Regions from separate parts of the Homo sapiens genome. Here all the other regions are linked to region 1. The links are contacts of gene promoters, found by promoter capture Hi-C in human tissues and cell types (Jung and others, 2019). All regions are on one chromosome and are shown on one strand. Each heading gives the region's core, a stretch centred on a gene start or on the middle of the fragment in contact. The rest is flanking DNA. Distances are from core to core; before and after follow the strand shown.

Region 1 (3,401 bases), core at 468-2,967:
GTATTTATGGATGGCTGGAGCTGCATGTTCCGCTCTCTGACAATTCCAAGCACCTCTCATCCCTGCCACCCAGCTCCCTGCTTGGTCTCCCTACTCCAAGGAAACTCCTGACCCTCTTCTGAAAAAAAACCCAAAACACACTCCCTCGAGTTTGAGGGAAAGGAAAACATGGATAGGACGCTGACAGCAGGACCAAAATCGGGATTCTGAAGAATGTTTACTGAATTCAATCTACTTACCAAACCTATCGCCTAAAAAGAAAAATTTCTTCCAGTGAGTGGCTTTTGTTTTTTACCTTTCCTCCTTCGTGTGTATTTGCATAGCCTGCTCAATAAAGCCCTTCAGTAAGAATCATTAAGAATCCGTCTTGTTGCAGATCCGAGCTCCATCTCCCTGGCCGTCAGGGATGGGAGGGGGCTATCTGTGGGGCAGCGCAGCGCCCGGCCAGCCCCAGGATCCGCCCAGCCCAGATTTTGGCAGTGCCGAAGCTCCACACTTTCCTAAGCAGATGGTTAAGTTCCCCCCACGTTCCTGCCAGGTTTCAACGTCACGCTGTGATTTTGTTCTTCTGGAACCGGACGAGTGTTGCTTCCCAGAGTGGCCCTATTAGAACAGAAAGAAAATCCTCTAAATAGGCGGAACAAGGCATCAGGAGGAAAAAGTTCTCTAAATGCACTTTAATACGAGCCGGGTATTGTGTGGAATTCAGCGCCCATCACCGTTTAGCCGGAGAGTTATGGCAGTGATTGGGGATGAATAGAGGAACATAATGGATACATGTGGCGTTTGCTCATTATATTCAAGTTAGTCCAACTCCGCTGTGGAAACTGTTCAACTTTCTCTCCCCTTAGCTTGTCACAGTGAAATAATACAGACATTGGGGCCTCCAATGGGATCGCCTGCCACACCATTCTATTTCCACTGCTAACGAGGGCTTCATAAGCCTTTGATACAGTCTGATCTTTGAAACCTTTCCAAATCTCCTCAAGCTTATGCTAAATCCTATTTGGAACTTTTTTTTCCTTGCCTGCTAGCTCCCAGGGCTTAAGAAGGCCACTTGGACAGTGACGTGCATACTAACATATCGCGGGGCTCTTTTCTGAAAGGGAAGTGGCAGCTCTGATCACTGGGGCTCACACGAGCAAAACACAATTGAGTACACAAATTTGAATAAAATCAATTTTCCCTTATCCTTCAGGCTTCTTAATCGAGAGGCTATTCCAGGCACCGTAGCTAGGAGAGAAGGAAAGCAGAGCCTCATTCAGCAGAGCAAGTCTGTGGGTAGGGGGCTGCAAGGGTTTGGAAGCGTCAGAGGTGCAAAATGCAGAGTGTGTGTGTTGGCAGGGGCTGGGGGAAGGCGGAATCAGGAGCCACTGGGGTGAAACCCCAGCGTGTTCGCACTTAGTTCTAGCCGCGGCACGGAGGGAGGCAGGCGACAATTAACAAAACCATCCGCTCCTTTTACTCCTGGAGCCCTGTGCCAACTCCTCTACATGCAGGGTGCTGACAAGAAAAGGGGGAAAAAGCAAAAGGAGTTAAACAAAAGAAAGATTCCCTAATTTTCCTTTCTTGTTTTCCCCTCTAAGCCTTTCCACATTAAAGGGATTGTCAGAGGCAGGCGGAGGGGCGACGCGAGGGGGAGGCGGCCATTGGCTACCCGGCTCGGGTGATTAGCATATCGGCGGCTATAAAGGCAAAGGCGGCGCGAGGCGGCGCAGCTTCTGTAAGAGACGGAGAGGCGCAGAGTGAGGGCGGGTCCGCGCGTCCTCAGAGCCCGCTGGAGGCTCGGAGCTGCTACCCGCAGACTTCTCCCGCACAGGGCTCGCAAAGAGCGTGATTCCGAGAGCCTGAGACTGACGCCCGACCTGGAAACCAGAGAAGACTTCCTTAGCCTTTCGGATCGCACTTGAGGCTGGAGGCATGAGTCCTGTGAGGCGTTGGGGCAGCCCCTGCCTTTTCCCCTTGCAGCTCTTCAGCCTCTGCTGGGTGCTCTCAGTGGCCCAGAGCAAAACAGTCCGATACAGCACCTTCGAGGAGGATGCCCCCGGCACGGTCATCGGGACCCTGGCCGAGGACCTGCATATGAAAGTATCGGGTGACACAAGCTTCCGCCTGATGAAGCAATTCAACAGCTCTCTGCTCCGGGTGCGCGAAGGCGACGGGCAGCTGACCGTCGGGGACGCCGGCCTGGACCGCGAGCGGCTGTGTGGCCAGGCCCCGCAGTGCGTGCTGGCCTTCGATGTGGTCAGCTTCTCGCAGGAGCAGTTCCGGCTGGTGCACGTGGAGGTAGAGGTGAGGGACGTCAACGACCACGCGCCGCGCTTCCCCAGGGCCCAGATCCCGGTAGAGGTGTCCGAGGGTGCGGCAGTGGGCACGCGCATCCCCTTGGAGGTGCCGGTGGACGAGGACGTGGGCGCCAACGGGCTGCAGACCGTGCGCCTGGCCGAGCCGCACAGCCCCTTTCGCGTGGAGCTGCAGACGCGAGCGGACGGCGCTCAGTGCGCAGACCTGGTGCTGCTGCAGGAGCTGGACCGCGAGAGCCAGGCCGCCTACAGCCTGGAGCTGGTGGCCCAGGACGGCGGCCGCCCGCCGCGCTCCGCCACGGCTGCCCTCAGCGTGCGCGTCCTGGATGCGAATGACCACAGCCCGGCCTTCCCGCAGGGCGCCGTGGCCGAAGTGGAGCTGGCGGAAGACGCGCCCGTGGGCTCCCTGCTTCTCGACCTGGACGCAGCCGACCCCGACGAGGGACCTAACGGCGACGTGGTGTTCGCATTTGGCGCCCGCACCCCGCCGGAGGCGCGCCGCCTCTTTCGGCTTGACCCGCGATCAGGCCGCCTCACCCTGGCCGGGCCCGTGGACTACGAGCGTCAGGACACCTACGAGCTGGACGTGCGGGCGCAGGACCGCGGACCCGGGCCCCGCGCTGCCACCTGCAAGGTCATCGTGCGCATCCGAGACGTCAATGACAACGCACCCGACATCGCCATCACCCCGCTGGCCGCCCCAGGCGCGCCGGCAACCTCACCCTTCGCCGCTGCCGCCGCCGCCGCTGCACTCGGGGGAGCGGACGCTAGCTCGCCGGCGGGAGCCGGGACGCCGGAGGCTGGTGCCACTTCGCTGGTGCCGGAGGGGGCGGCGCGCGAGAGCCTGGTGGCCCTGGTCAGCACCTCGGACAGGGACTCGGGCGCCAACGGGCAAGTGCGCTGCGCCCTCTATGGGCACGAGCACTTCCGGCTGCAGCCGGCCTACGCGGGCAGCTACCTGGTGGTGACCGCGGCGTCGCTGGACCGCGAACGCATCGCCGAGTACAACTTGACGCTGGTGGCCGAGGATCGCGGCGCGCCCCCGCTGCGCACAGTGCGGCCCTACACGGTGCGTGTGGGCGACGAGAACGACAACGC
Region 2 (3,295 bases), core at 389-2,888, 140 kb before region 1:
AAAGAGTAGGCAAGACATTCCAGAAGAACGGAGTGGGGTAGCTGATGTAACACACATGAAAAAATATTATAAAACTATAATCATTAAGACTGCATGCAAGGGTGGCATCTGATTATATAGGGCCTGAAGTTTATGTAGTTTGGGCACACTTCTACATAAAATAATACAAAATTATAAATATTAGATTCAGGATTCATGCAAATCAGGGGTGCTGAAGTGAGGAGGTACTGAGGTTTAAGCTTCTTTAGCTTCTGGTAAATCAACATTCAGCTGCATAGTAATGATGCTGGAATAAACAAATATCCCAATGAAACAGATTTGAAAGCCCAGAAACAGACCCATGCATATATATGGACACTTAATTCAAGGCTGAGATATAATTGTAGATCAGTTGAGAAATGATGAACTTTTTAATGCTGGAATAATTATTAATATTACTCTGGAGGCTTCCTCATACCATAATCCAAAATCAATTCCAGATAATTAAAATTTTAGATGTGGGAGGCAAACACATAAAACATAGACAGGAAAATATTGAAAAAAATATTGTTATTATCTCAAGGCAGAGAAGACTTCTTAAAACACAATATGTAAAAAACACAGAGAAAAAGATTTTAAAATTTGACTATATGAGTATTCTGCTCAGTACCTGGGTGACAGGATCAATCATACCCCAAATCCCAGAATCACAAAATATACTCATGTAACAAACCTGCACATGTACCCATGAATCTATAAAAGTTGAAATTTTTTTTAATTGGACTATATTAAGAATGAGTTTGCATCAAGAGACAATATAAAGAAAGTAAAGAAACAAAATACAAATTGAGAGACTATACTTTCAAATATACTTAATTGGCAAAGTATTACTATTCCAATATATAATATTTCATCACTATTAAATGCACTTTTCTTTCATATTTAACATCTCTCTAATTAAGATGCATCTTATAATCAACACTGTCACAATTTAATTGCTAGCGTTTTTTTCTTAGTGTAAATAAAATAGCAGCATCTCTTACAATAAGTATTCTCCTAAATTCAATGAAATATACTATAAAGAACTACAGATTAACACACAATGAAAGGCCAACAAAAGTCAATCAAAAATGGACAGAATATTTGAACAGGTACTTCACAGAAACAATAATTTGAATACCCTATAAATATGTGGGGAAAATGCTCAGCCTCATTAGTAATTAGGGAGATGCAAATTAAAACTATAACGAAATACTGCTTCATACATGCCAGATTGACAAAAATTAAAAGTTTGACAACATCAAGTGCTAGAGAGGATGTAGAACAACTAAAATGTTTAAACTCTGCTGCTGGGAGCATAAGTTTGTACAATTACTTTGGAGAACATTATGGCTTTTTCTAGCCTAAGATGCATATAACCTATGACTCGGCAATTCCAACCCTAGGTTCATACTCAAGATAAACTCTTGCACATTAGTACAGGGGACATGTACAAAGCATGTTCATAACAGTACTATTTGTAAGAGCAAAACTTAGAAACAACCCACAAGGACAGATAAATAAATGTGGGGTAGTCTCAGAATAGGATGTTATACATCAGTGAAATTGAATGAATGATAGCCCTATTCACTTACAAGGAATAATCTCTCATGAACGTAATTTTGAGCCCAAAAAAAGTAAGTTGCCAAATGCTTACAGGATGACTCCTTTTGTAAACAATGAAAAGCATGCAAAACTAAATACTATATTATTTATGCTGCAAATACATATTTTGAAGCCATAGAAAAGCAAGACAATCCTGAACACAATATTCACAATCATGGTTGTATCTAAGGGCCGAGGGAAAGAGAAGGATTAGGAAGCAACACTTCTGGGTTTTAGAGATCATTAAAATATTCAGTTTTTAAAACAGGGTTGTTAATATACATAAGTTCTTTGTATTGTTATTCTTCTTACTCTACACTTATATGTGTTATTTTAACATTTACTCAATATTTGACTTCTTACATTACAAAAAATTAAGGTCTTCACATCTAACTCATTTATCTACCAATATATTGTACAACCCTGATAAAAATCAATCATAAGTACATTTCACTCTCTAATATCAATGGCAGAGCCACCTGGAAATGGGTTAAGGCCAGTGTGTTCTTTCAAAGAAGGCAAATAGGCCTGTGGGTGTACTGGAAATATTTTGTTTAAAATAATACATATGAAAAAATTTTTTTTGCTAAATGGAAAAGTGTTAGTTATCTAGAAAATACACTCGTGTAGACAGATTTGAATACTCATGATGACAGATGAAGTGTTTGTTTAAAATAAACTCATTATAAATAAAAGTTGTCATTTTTTTCCACATCCAATGGAAAGCACCTCCACTTTGGAAAACACTAATCTTTTTAAGAAACTAATAAAATAACCTGGATCTCTCAAAAAACTCACGAATATGGATTTCTCAATCTTACTCTCCCCTCCTTGTCCTTCACCCAGCCCAGAAGTCAACTTTTGACAGACACGTTCAGAAAGAAATTTGCCAGAAATTCAAAGTCATAGAACACTTATTCAAGAAAAATTAAATCATAGAGGAAGGTTTTCCATGGTAAAATTGAACACTAACTTTGTGCCATGTTTGATGCAATATGCTGGAGATGAAACAGAAGGCAAAACCAGACAGGGTCCCACACTTAGGAAGCTTTCAGTCTAGTGAGGGAGACAGTCATTAATCAAAGAATGACTCGGATCACAGTGAAGATGATTGAGATAAGCACCACATGGGATTGTGAGAGCATAAAATAAAGAGAAATGGCCTAGTCAGGGATGACTGAGCCAAACTATGAAGGAAAAGTAGGCATGATCTAGGTATGCGTATTGCGGAGAGGGGGCAATGAGAGACGGTGGAAAGAAAATTACAGGCAAAAGGACCAAATAATGCAAAGACACTATAATAGAAATTGCACATGGTTTATAATCAGTAATCACACCAAGGAGAAATATAAGACAATAATAATAAATAAGTATACAGTAGTTAAGTGAGTAAATAACATGTTAAACTATTGAACAAATGACAGCTATTTCTTATCTAGACTTCAGTGATTATAACTAATATTTTTATGTTATGGACAATATCTATGTATTTTACAGTTTCAATTCAGGGTATACTTGGGAATATATGAATATTTACATGGTGAACTCAAGAATAAAATGTAAAAATAATGGCAAAAAAATTGGTGCATTTAAAATTGGTGGATGATATGGTTTGGCTGTGTCCCCACCCAAATCTCATCTTGAATTTTAGCCCCCATAATTCCCATAGGTC
Region 3 (3,190 bases), core at 402-2,901, 250 kb after region 1:
CGCGGCCTGGCGCCCACTTCCGCTCCTCGGCAGCTGCGGAGCGCCCCGGGCGGAGGGAGAGGGGCGCGGGGCGGGCCTCGGCGCCCAGGCGGCGTGACCTTCCCGGGCGTCCAGGGAAGCGGCGAGAGCTGCCACGCACGTGCCGCGGGACCCGCGCGCCGCCCAGGGATGGCCCGCCGGGGTCGCTGGAGAATCTCAGGGTCATCGGCCTCCTTCCCCCAGTGCCTACCTGGTGGGAACTGTTGTCCTCCTTTGCCCCCAAGTCGTGTCATTTGGCCGCGGGCTTCCGCGCCGCCAGGGCGCCATCGCTGGGCAGCACGGAGCCGCTTCTGAATGGAGACTTGCAGGCTGCCAGACAGTGGGCGGCTGGGCAGGGGCGGCGAGCGTTCAGGGCCGGGCAGAGAAAGTGGGAAATGTCTCCTTAACCTGTTCCTTGCGAGGCCGGGGAGGAGGCGCGCCTGTCCGGGTTCCTTGGCGGCAAAACTGGTTTGCATCCGGGCGCCCTAAAGCCCGGGCTCTGGGGACTAGATGGCGAGCTGGCCGGCAGCTCCTACCGCCCCAGCTTTAGCCAGAAGCTGGGATCTTCCCGCAGCAGTTAGTGTTCCCTGGTGGAAAATGCGGCCTCATCTGACTCTACCGTCCAAAAAAGTTTTTTCCCCAAGGATCGAGAAGGACGGGTGGTCAGCGCTGTTGTTTTCTCAATCGAACCCTGGTGTAGTGTGAGAGGGATCAAAGGCGCTGAAGAGTTTTTCTATTCCAAGTGCTACAGCAAGCTCATAAATCAGTTCTAATTCATGCTGAACAGTCTTGCCTCCTCCAAGCCCTGTTTCTTCTCCCAGCTAGAGCTACACATAACCTGAATTAACCCGTTAACTACCCACTCCTGAGTGAATCTGTTAGTACCCACCATTGTTTTCTATCTTAATAATTCCAGAAGTGGTTATTTGTAGAATTTAATGTGTTTAAGTTTGGCTCACCTAACGGGGTTGAATTCACACGGGCAGACAGAATGCAATGTGATGTGACTTTCATTCCTTCCAAGTTACAAAGGAAGTGGCTGCGCCAAAAGAAACAAACGCATTGAGGTTTATCTGGGAGGCCAGACTGGACATGCCCTGTCTTCTCAGTTGCCTTTGTTTTTTTCCTTCCTCCTTTTTCCTTTTTTTTTTTTTTTTCCTAAAATGCAGGGTTGGGTGTTTTGTGATGTTTTTGCCCAGGTTGGAATACTCGGATCAAGTATTGGTTTGTAGGCACAGACCTGAAGGACAGGACTGAACTGGCTCCTCTGTCACTGACTAGTTGTGTGGCCTAGGAGACCTTGTCTTGCTCTGGCCTTAGTTTGCCTTCTGGAAAAGGATTAGGACCCTGATATACTTTTTTAGGAAGATACCAGATGGCCATCACCTTTTCAGCCTAGTAAATGGTCCTGTCTCTCCAGGTCTATCAACAGCATATAAATCAGTGTCTTGCACTTCTAACTTAGCTGCTTTGTTAAGTACTGTGCCTTTGTTGCCATTGGTTTTAAATTTTTTTTGTAAATTAAGGAAGATTCTTGAAGTCTGGTCATTGGCAAAATGCTTCAAGTAGTTAAAAAATCTTCTCGGTGGCCACTGTTTTCTGTTGACGTTCAGGATGACACTGGTGTTAGGAAGTCACTTGGTGTTCATCTCTGATCCAGCACGACTGGGGTCACGCGGCTCCTCAGTGCGATGACAAATAAATTGTTCCTTATTATTCACAAAGAAGTTACTTGAAAATTATACAGGATTGGTTGTTGAACTGGATATTTTAGTCAACATTTATGAAACCCATGCCTCAGCAATAGTTGACTTTTGTCTAAAGGGAGAGGAATACATTCTAGTTTTCCCAAATGCCCAAGGCTCCAACCGAAACATACTGAATCAAGATTTCCAGAAGAAAGGCCTGATAATTAGAATATTTAATACGTGCTCCAGGCTGGGCAAGGTGGTTCACACTTGTAATCTCAGCACTTTGGGAGGCTGAGGTGGGTGGATCACTGAAGGTCAGGAGTTCAAGACCAGCCTGGCCAACATGGTGAAACTCCGTCTCTACTATAAATATAAAAATTAGCCTGGTGCAGTGGCATGCACCTGTAATCTCAGCTACTTGGGAGGCTGAGGCAGGAGAATCACTTGAACTCCGGAGGTGGCAGTTGCAGTGAGCTGAGATCGTGGCCGTTGCACTCCAGCCTGGGCGACAGAGCCAGACTCCATCACAAAAAAAAAGGGGGGGGGTGGGGGGTGCTTCAGGTTATCAAGCAAATTTGGACACAATGACCGAGGTGTTGTATTTCAAAGTGTGAGTCCGTGGACTGGCATTGTCCATCTCACTCGGGAGCTCATCAAGACGCCAAATCTCTGGTCCCATCCGAGGCTATTGAATCAGAAGCTGCATTTTATTTAGCAAGGCCCCCAGGCGACTCCTGTGCACATTGACAGTTGAAGGGCTAGTGGACTGTGGTCACAGGAAGATGCTTGGTGCTCTGTGCAGGGCCTTGTTCTGAGAACACATGATGCTTGTGCACAGTGGAGCATCCCATCAGTCTCATGTGGCTATTTGCGACTGCCTTTGTTTTGTAATAGTGTTATTATTTGCCTTGTACAGATGAGGACTCCCAGCTGTAGAGGCCAAAGGGGCCACAGGTAGAGGAGGCATTCACACCAAGGCGTGTGTGATTCCAGGGTGCAGCTCTCACCCTTGGCTGCCTGAGTGCTCCTTTCCAGACCTACTGTCTTGTGACATCCCCTTAGGCACCCAGCACAGGCTGCTGTCTGATTTTAGAACTGAGCCTATTCAATTGATAGCTCAACTTAGGCCTGTAAAAACAGTCTGCTGTGGTTTGGTACATCTGTGGTTGGCTTGTTTGGTGTTCATTTTACAGTTTTCAGAAAGGTTGGTTGAAGTGCTATTGGTGACAATAGCATTGATACGCAGGGAAGCTTTTTGATCTGTGACCTTTTTAGGGGGCAGTCACTTGCTAAGCTGCACTGATACTTTGAGCCCGTTTCCTTTGCAGCAATGTAGAGCCCAGTTCATGGATCCCAGAAGTTTAGGTTCAGTAATTTGGCTGCAGGCCTAGAGAACGGGAGGCTGCAGAGACTTGGACTAATGGTGAACTCTTGCCTCCCCCCAGGATATGTGGTGCCTGTCATAAGGTCCAGCGAGCTGC

What was found. Contacts are between HindIII fragments. The study calls those that stand out against the background at their distance.
Region 2: a contact is called between a fragment that was not itself captured here and the fragment with the promoter of PCDH8 in region 1, in 1 of the 25 tissues and cell types used here (H1 embryonic stem cells).
Region 3: a fragment that was not itself captured here is called in contact with the fragment with the promoter of PCDH8 in region 1 in 1 of the 25 tissues and cell types used here (lymphoblastoid cells).

Annotation. Positions count from the first base shown.
Region 1 is chr13:52,846,956-52,850,356 of GRCh38, reverse strand. It overlaps PCDH8 (protocadherin 8), which reads left to right and starts at 1,717. Exons shown (of 3, transcript NM_002590.4): 1 at 1,717-3,401. The coding sequence starts at 1,921. RefSeq lists enhancers at 1,329-1,623, 1,754-2,643, 2,644-3,401. The HindIII fragment of the contact is 11,047 bases long and covers 1-3,401 here.
Region 2 is chr13:52,984,521-52,987,815 of GRCh38, reverse strand. No RefSeq gene overlaps it. Among named protein-coding and RNA genes, the nearest start is that of OLFM4, 43 kb to the left of the region's middle. The HindIII fragment of the contact is 5,602 bases long and covers 1-3,295 here.
Region 3 is chr13:52,597,260-52,600,449 of GRCh38, reverse strand. LINC00345 (long intergenic non-protein coding RNA 345) reads left to right here and starts at 87. Exons shown (of 3, transcript NR_184203.1): 1 at 87-232; 2 at 3,155-3,190. The HindIII fragment of the contact is 4,159 bases long and covers 1-3,190 here.